Regions from separate parts of the Homo sapiens genome. Here region 2 is linked to region 1. The links are contacts of gene promoters, found by promoter capture Hi-C in human tissues and cell types (Jung and others, 2019). All regions are on one chromosome and are shown on one strand. Each heading gives the region's core, a stretch centred on a gene start or on the middle of the fragment in contact. The rest is flanking DNA. Distances are from core to core; before and after follow the strand shown. Region 1 holds the start of CCDC171 (coiled-coil domain containing 171). Region 2 has its middle 39 kb from the start of SNAPC3.

The links. Contacts are between HindIII fragments. The study calls those that stand out against the background at their distance.
Region 2: a fragment that was not itself captured here is called in contact with the fragment with the promoter of CCDC171 in region 1 in 1 of the 25 tissues and cell types used here (heart left ventricle).

What each region holds. Positions count from the first base shown.
Region 1 is chr9:15,551,379-15,555,481 of GRCh38, forward strand. CCDC171 (coiled-coil domain containing 171) reads left to right here and starts at 1,665. Exons shown (of 26, transcript NM_173550.4): 1 at 1,665-1,924. RefSeq lists enhancers at 1,262-1,907, 1,803-1,972 and silencers at 1,363-1,422, 1,433-1,522. The HindIII fragment of the contact is 9,052 bases long and covers 1-4,103 here.
Region 2 is chr9:15,381,702-15,385,804 of GRCh38, forward strand. No RefSeq gene overlaps it. Among named protein-coding and RNA genes, the nearest start is that of SNAPC3, 39 kb to the right of the region's middle. The HindIII fragment of the contact is 9,430 bases long and covers 1-4,103 here.

The DNA of each region.
Region 1 (4,103 bases), core at 415-2,914:
TTTTTTTTGTATTTTTAGTAGAGACAGGGTTTCACCGTGTCAGCCAGGATGGTCTCGGTCCCCTGACCTCATGATCCGCCCACCTCGGCCTCCCAAAGTGCTGGGATTACAGACGTGAGCCACCGCGCCCGGCCAACACAAATGAAATTTTAAGTAGTTCCAGCTACTCAGGAGGCTGAGGCAGGAGGATGGCTTGAGTCCTGAAGGTCTAGGCTGCAGCGAGGCGTGATTGTGCCGCTGTACTCTAGCCTGGGCAACAGAGAACAACCCTGTTTCAAAAAAAAAAAAAAAAAAAAGAAAAAGAAAAAAATAAAATTTAAAAATATTTTTTAAAGCTTGTAACATAAAAGTTCTAATCTCATTAGTCAGTTGTAATTTTCCATTTCATTTCTAAACTTTAGAGTGGGCTATTTTTTCCCTTTATTTCCTCTGGAGCAATTGTCCTCTTTATGGCTCTAGTAAAAAGAATCAGGGACAGGCCTCCGTTTTAGATGTAAATGACTAAAATCAAACCAATTAAGGTTTCAGTGCTACAAGAATCAAGGAGGTTTTAATCTCAATTTGTGTTTGCATTTATGACCGTTGGCTCTCCCATGGGAGAGAGAAAAGACGGCCCCTACACCTGGTTTCAGGTTGATTACAATCAACAAGGACCCAGTTTAGTATAGAAGGCTCGTTTTGCATTAAACACCTTTTTGTGCAGAGGAGGTGGTGGTGGTGAAGATAAAAATCTTTGACCAAATCCTGTCAATTTGCATTGTTCTCTGGAAGAATAGGCTTTCAAAAGTTAAGGAACAAAAGAGGAGTTGGTTTTCCAGTCTCCCTTAGGCGGCAGCAGATTGTGAAGCAGCCACCGGGAGGAACCAAAGTATAAATTATCAATAAGAGGACGGTGTGTGTGTGTGTGTGTGTGTGTGTGTGTGTGTGTGTGTGTGTGTCAGAGAAAAGTGAGAGAAGCGAGGAAAGAGATAGGGAACACACATGCTAAGGCTCCGAGGCGTTTTCCACGATGTGCCTGGTTACGTAATGTTGATAATGAAACGCACTGCAAGCAGCATCAATGCATTCTTCCGACCCTGCTCACCACTCCCAGCTGGGATACAATGGGGACGGGAAGAGGGGACAGGATGCCCTGTGCAGGCAGAGAGCTGTCCAGACAGAGGTAAACCAGGCAGTTGGGCAGAACCCGAGCCCAGAGAATTTCTCCCCAGGCCCCGGGACCAGCCCACCGTTGCTGTGGCTCTAAAGATGGGCAGAAGAACCAGTTTCAAAAAGCAGGATCTGGGATCCGACCTCTTAGGTTTTTATTCAGCAGGCAGGGAAAAGGGGTTAGAAGCTGGAAATCTGCATTTCCACTCGGCTCTGGCGACTGAGACAGGAACGCGGACACCTCACGCTGAAAAGCCACAGCAGCGCGTGGGCAGGGCGCACCCCCGCGCGGGGACGCGGAGCTCCTGGAGCGAGAGCGCGTGCGGTCGCGAGCCCGCCGCTCCCCAGCAACGGCGCATGCGCCCGTTCGTCCCTCAGCGAAGGCGCGCTGCTTGGCGGGCGGGCTCTTCCAATCCGAGCCAGCGTTCTCGGAGTACGTATCCAGGAGCTGCAAGCTGAGGGCTGCGGGAGGCGGGAGGAAAAAGTGGGGCCGGGCCTGAGTTGGGCTGACCTGTGAAAGTCTGGGAAGGTCTGCGAGAGAAGCGGAGTGTTTTCAGCTCCGGAAGTGGCAGTTGTAAACTTCACCTCCCGGGGGCTCTTCCCCTTCTGTACCCCTTTGCTGTTTGTCCCCCTCCTCCCGGGTCCTGGAGTCCGTCGTGTTCCAACAGTTTTTGCTCTTATTCCCGTGGGCTGCCTGGGCCTCCTTTCACCCGTGAGACTTGGAGCGGCCCCTGGGGTCTTGGGTGTGCAGCACGGATCACGCGAGACCCCTGAGGTAACCGCACGGTGTGGGGGCTTCGAGGCGGACGACTTGGGAGGGAGGTGTTGAGAGGGTTGTAGGGGCCCCTGAGTGAGTTTGGGGCGGCCCTGGGGCTGTTGGCGTAGGCTTTGGGGCACGCCTCCAGCTCCCTGGGCTGGGTCTCCCCGCCCACCTGGAGGAAGATCTCCGTGGAGCATCCTAGCCAGAGATCGCTGAGGCTGTACCAGAGCGCCGGATGGGGACCAGAGGGGAGGCAGAGGACCGGGATTTGGAGCTTCTTAGGGTTACTGCTGCGGAGCGCTTTCGTTCCCGAGAATCAGTAAGCCCCTCGAGGATAGGGACCACGTCTTTCAGCCCGCTCTCCCCTTTTTAAATGCCGGCCACACACTAGACACTCTACAGATGTTTGATAAACGGGAATGAGTTGTGCTAGACTGTCACCTGCAGCTTCTACCTACCCTCCAGGACTCTGAGAGACTTAGAATCTGAGTCAGCTGTGCGTTTTCCCGAAGCTGTAAATTTTCTGCAGAAATGGAGCCGACTTTTTGAATTTTTTTATTCCATTATGATATTGATCCTAAGAAAATACATATTTCATGTATACATTTTAGGTAAATGAGATAAATACGTCTTTATTTTGTTTATTAGAGTTGGTGTCCAGCTCTTTTGAATACATGACATACCGATGTTTTATGGTTTTCATAATATTGGAGAAAAGAACATACGATTTTGTCACTTTTTTTTTTTTTTGAGATGGAGTCTTGCTCTGTCACCCAGGCTGGAGTGCAGTGGCGCGATCTCGGCTCACTGCAAGCTCCGCCTCCCGGGTTCACGCCATTCTCCTGTCTCAGCCTCCCCAGCAGCCGGGACAACCGGCGCACGCCGCCACGCCCGGCTAATTTTTTTGTATTTTTAGTGGAGACGGGGTTTCACTGTGTTAGCCAGGATGGTCTCGATCTCCTGACATCGTGATCCGCCCGCCTCGGCCTCCCAAAGTGCTGGGATTACAGGCGTGAGCCACTGCGCCCGGCATGTCACTTATTTTATTTAACTGTTAGTTCCTACTCTCAACAAAACAGTGGTAGAGCAGAAGATGAACATGGTTTTTCATAAAATGCAGAGGAAACAAAGGCAGTGCAACCTGCTAAGAGGAAAGATGAAGGGCATAGTCTTAGTTTGTAGCTTTCTGTGTTAGTCTTGGGGCTCAGCCATTTATGAGCTGCGTCCCCACAGGCAAACCACCTAACCTTCCTAGGCGTTAGGTTCTTTATCTGTCAGATAAGGAGGAAGGACTTAGTCTCTAAAGTCTCATTTGATTCTAAAACGTTTTGGTTGTCTCAGTCCCTTGGTCTTGGTCTTGTTTTGATGTAAGAACCAAACTTCCCCTTTAAAGGTTGATTATGTACCTATGCTGAGAAACACTTCCAACACAGGTGTGGTTACTAATGAAGACAGCACTGCGTAGTGAAAGAGGATGGACTTAGCCAGATGTGGATTTGAATTCTCATTTTCCGGCTGAATATTTTTACACAAATTATTCAACATCTCCAAGCCTCAGTTTTCTTATCTGTGAAATGTGCATAATCTCATAGAGATGTTGGGATTAAATGAGATCAGGAATGCTGATCTCAGTATCTGGCATATAGTAAGTGGCTCAATAATAGGAATTTCTATTTTTTCATCCACCCATCCCTCGTTTTTCCTCTGATCTGTGCAGACACACTGAAAGATGAGTGCATTTGGGATGACCAACTGAAGGACTCAGATGTAAGGTAGAAAAATTTTTTACCAGTAGTGGCTCCGAAATCTAAAGTAGATTCGCCTTTCTGGCTGGCACCTCCTCTCAGGATGTCGGGATCACTGATCCCTTGGCCTCAATTACCCTTTTATCTATTTTTAAAAATGCTTCTCATTGATGAATGATACACATAATATCCCATCATCTATTTTAGTAGGAATGGTGAGATTAGTTCAACTCCACTATCAAAAAAAGATTAATCTATTAATACATTAACATAAAAAGCTAATTTGAACCTTGCCTTTCTTTATCTATTACTGCTACAGGATGGCCTGGTTTTGGTCCAGAACTGTGAAGGTGCTATCTGGATTGAGAATCGACTGAAGGTCTGAGTAATCTTTTGTTGAGAAGGCCATGGCTTGTCAGTTTCGATACGGGGAAAAATGATATTTTTAA
Region 2 (4,103 bases), core at 428-2,927, 170 kb before region 1:
GCTCCTAAAAAAGCCCTAGATCTTTTCACTATTGCCTCCTGAGCCACTTGAAGGAAACAGTCCAGCCTGGGAAACACCATTTATAAAGGGAGGCCCCATTCTCACCATGTTAACCCCTTAACCACTGGCCCTCAGTCCTGCTCCTTCTTGCTCCTTCCAGCACCTTGTTGGCTTCATGACTTAGTCAAAAGTTGGAAATGAACATTCTGAATTAACCATTTTTAATCTGTATAAAGATCCACTTCAGGGGTGGGTCATGGTGGCTCACATAATCCTAGCATTTTGGGAGGCCAAGGCAGAAGGATTGCTTGAGGCTAAGAGTTTAAAAAAATTAGCTGGCCACAGTGGTACATACCTAGATTCCTAGCTACTTGGGAGGCTCAGGTGGGAGGATCGCTTGAGCCCAGGCTACAGTGAGCTATGATCCTGCCACTGCCTAGGTGACAGACCAAGACCCTGAATCTAAAAAAAAAAAAGAACCACTTCAAAGCCTTCTTATTTTCCTCTTAAAATGTTTTCATTGGTACCACAACAATTAATAGTAAAATAATTTTGATCAAAGTTTATTAATGCCATATTTCCCCCACCTAGAATAAAAGTAATTGGATGGTTATACTTCATGTGTCCATGTATCTAAATTTGTTTAATTCGCAAATGTGTGTATTCTCTCTCTCTGTTTTTTGGAGGACATTCTGATGGCATCCTGCTCAATGAACAAAATATGATTATTCTATTACTTGTTAAGAAAATTGTAAGTCTAGAAATCCATGTCAAAGCCCACTGGTCTTTTCTCTGAACTTGTGTAACACTTATTGTGTTGAATGAATAAATCTATTCGTTTATTTATGCAACAAACATTTATTAAGCACTGTGATGATCAGTTTATGTGTCTTCTTGGCTAGTCTATGGTGCCCAGTTGTTTGGTCAAAGGCTTGTCTACATGTTGCCGTCAAGGTATTTTTGACCAAGGTATAACAATTACTATCAGTTGACTTTAAGTTAAGCAGATTATTTCAATCAAGCTTCATCCCATCAGTTGAACGCTTCAAGGGCAAAGACTGAGGTTCCCTGAAGAAGAAGCAATTCTGTCTCAACAGAAAAATCCTACCTGACCTTCCAGGCTGCTGGCTTCCCTGAGATTTTTCAACTCAAGGCTGCAATATTAGCTCATACCAGAATTTCCAGCCTGCAAGTTTCAGACTTGCCATCCCCCACAATGATATGAACCAATTCCTTGAAATTAATCCTAATAGTTCTGTTTCTCTGTAGAACCATAAATAATATAAGCACCCCCTATGTGGTATGCACTATGCTCATCAATGAGGACCCAGACTGGCCAGGTGCAGTGGATCACATCTGTAATTTCAGCACTTAGGGAGGCTGAGGTGGGAGGATCGCCTGAGCCCAGGAGTTCAAGACCAGCCTGGGAAACATAGTGGGACCCCCATCTCTACAAACAATTAATTAAAAAAAAAAATTAGCCAGGTGTGATGGTGCATGCCTGTGGTTCCAGCTACTCAGGAGGAGGCTGAGGTGGGAGGATCCCTTAAGCCAAGGAGACCAAGGCTGCAGTGAGCTATGATCGAACCACGGCACTCCAGCCTTGGCTACAGAGTAAGACCCTGCCTCAAAAATATATATAAGTAAGTAAATAAATATGGACCCAGATAAACCTATTCAGGAGATGACCTCCCTTCAATGCAGAAGGAACATGTTAAGAGAGAAATCAGGATACCTCAAGTTAAGGGCTATGAGAGTAAGAAAAAAGTACTTGAGGAAATAAGCAAGGAGGTGGCTAATTCTGCCTGGGGGACCAGAGAAGTTATACCTAAAGAGGTGATATTTTATTTGGAACTCAGGGTGAGTAGGCATTCCCAGGGTTGATTAGGGGTAGAAGCCATTATAGGAACCAAGCCCGGAGCTTTTGTAATTCAAGAACATGTCCTAAGACCTAAATATTGCAGGAGCACATGACAAAACGCTGTAAGACCAGGATGAAAAAGATCAGGACCAAGTTGTGAAGATTATATTGAAACTGAGATGCCAACAGCTGAAAACTTTTTAGCTAACGTTGGTAGGGAAGTCTAGAATTAAGTGCTAGCTGGGACGTAGAAAGAAAAGGCAAAATAAACGTCATTTCAACATGGGAGAAAACTCTTCATTTTGTAGATAAAAGAGACTATGTCAAGAGAATGTAGCTCGTCATTCAAAAAACATTTAGTGAGTATCCTGGGCCGTGAAATGTTTTAGAGACTGGAAATATAACCATGTATAAGATATAGTCCTTAGGTTCAAGGACCATGTTGTCTAGGGGCCAGGCAGAAAGTTAATACATGCACCCCACCCACCCAAACCTGGAAAAACAGATTGCATTCCCAACATCATCCATCTCCTTGTAAAGTTTCCTGGTTATTTTTAGGAACCTCAGTAGTATCTATTATTCTCTCCATGTTTGGGTCCGGTTCCTGTCAAAGCTGTCTGCTATTGAGGTCTCTGATACCAGGGAAATCTGCCTGTGGCCAACCCCACTGCTCCCACCCACCTCCACAGGGCACCCACCTTCAATCCAGTGTCCCAGGTGGTGGGTTGACAGACGTATACTATATTTAAAAAATCATCAAGCTGTTGTATTAGTTCTCTATGGTAGCTGTGAAATATTGCAGCATTTTAGAATTAAAATGATGAGGCCGGGAGTGGTGGTTGAAGCCTGTAATCCCAGCACTTTGGGAGCCCGAGGCGGGTAGATCACCTGAGGTCAGAAGTTCAAGACCAGCCTGGTCAATATGATGAAACCCTGTCTCTACTAAAAATACAAAAAATTAGCTGGGCATGGTGGCAGGCGCCTGTAATCCCAGCTACTCAGGAGGCTGAGGCAGAAGAATTGCTTGAACCCAGGAGGCGGAGGTTGCAGTGAGCCAAGATCACACCATTGCACTCCAGCCTAGGCAACAAGAGCAAAACTCCAACTCAAAAAAAAAAAAAAAAGAATTAAAATGATGAATAATAAGTATTGGCAAGGATATGAGAAATGAGAACACTATTGGTAGGTGACTCCTACGATCATTCTGGGGGCATAATATGGCAGTACTTAATGAAATTTAACAAATGTGTTCCCCATGTTCCAACAACTTCCTCCTGGTAAAATATACACGAGACATTCTCACATAGATGTGCATGAGGCTACGTGTACAAGGATGTTCACTGCAATGTTTATGTGGTAAAGGGAAGTTCAAAATCCTAGGCCTGAGGCAGAAACACCTTCATGCAGCAGTTCTTAGGTTGGTGCAAAAGTAATTGCAGTTTTAACAATGAAGTACTGGTGAAAATTGCAATTACTTTTGCACCAACCTGAAATAAATGCAACTTGCTTTGATATATAACAATATAGACTTTTTAAAGGTTAGTGCTGAGCTTTTAAAAAGATAGAAAAGAACGAGATCCCTGGCAAAATACTAATTATGTGAATTTAAAAACATACACACAAAAATACTATGTATTTTATAAGAACACATTCAAGTTCAAGGTAGATATTAACACGTGAGAATTAGTGTCTACTGGAAGGAGGAGGAAATGGGAGTGCAGAACTAATCAACCAAAGGAGGTATTTCAAAAATGAAGTTTAAAAAAAAAAAAAAGGCCCAATTAAGGCGTCTCATGGCTGTAAATCCCAGCGCTTTGGGAGACCAAGGTGGGTGAATTCCTTAAGCCCAGGAGTTTGAGACTATCCTGGGCAACATGGTGAGACCCCTTTCTCTATTATTTAAAAAAAGAAAAAGAATAAATAAATAAATATCTTTTCATTAGCACATGTAACATTCTCCAGAGACCATATTTTAGGCTACAAAACAAGCCTATTGCATTCTTTGTGATCTAAGATAAGGTGTCATTTCTTTAAAATAATTGGTTATATCTATAAGATGTTCTTTGTAAGCCTCATGGTAACTACAACACAAAAACCTATAATAGATTCACTAAAAATAGGAAGCAGCAAAGTATACAAATGAAGTTTGTATTATATTGTAAAGTTGCAAACAGCAGAAACTGACTCTGGTTGATTTAAACATAAGAGGAAAAAAATTAAAGGCTATTGGGTAGTTCATCAA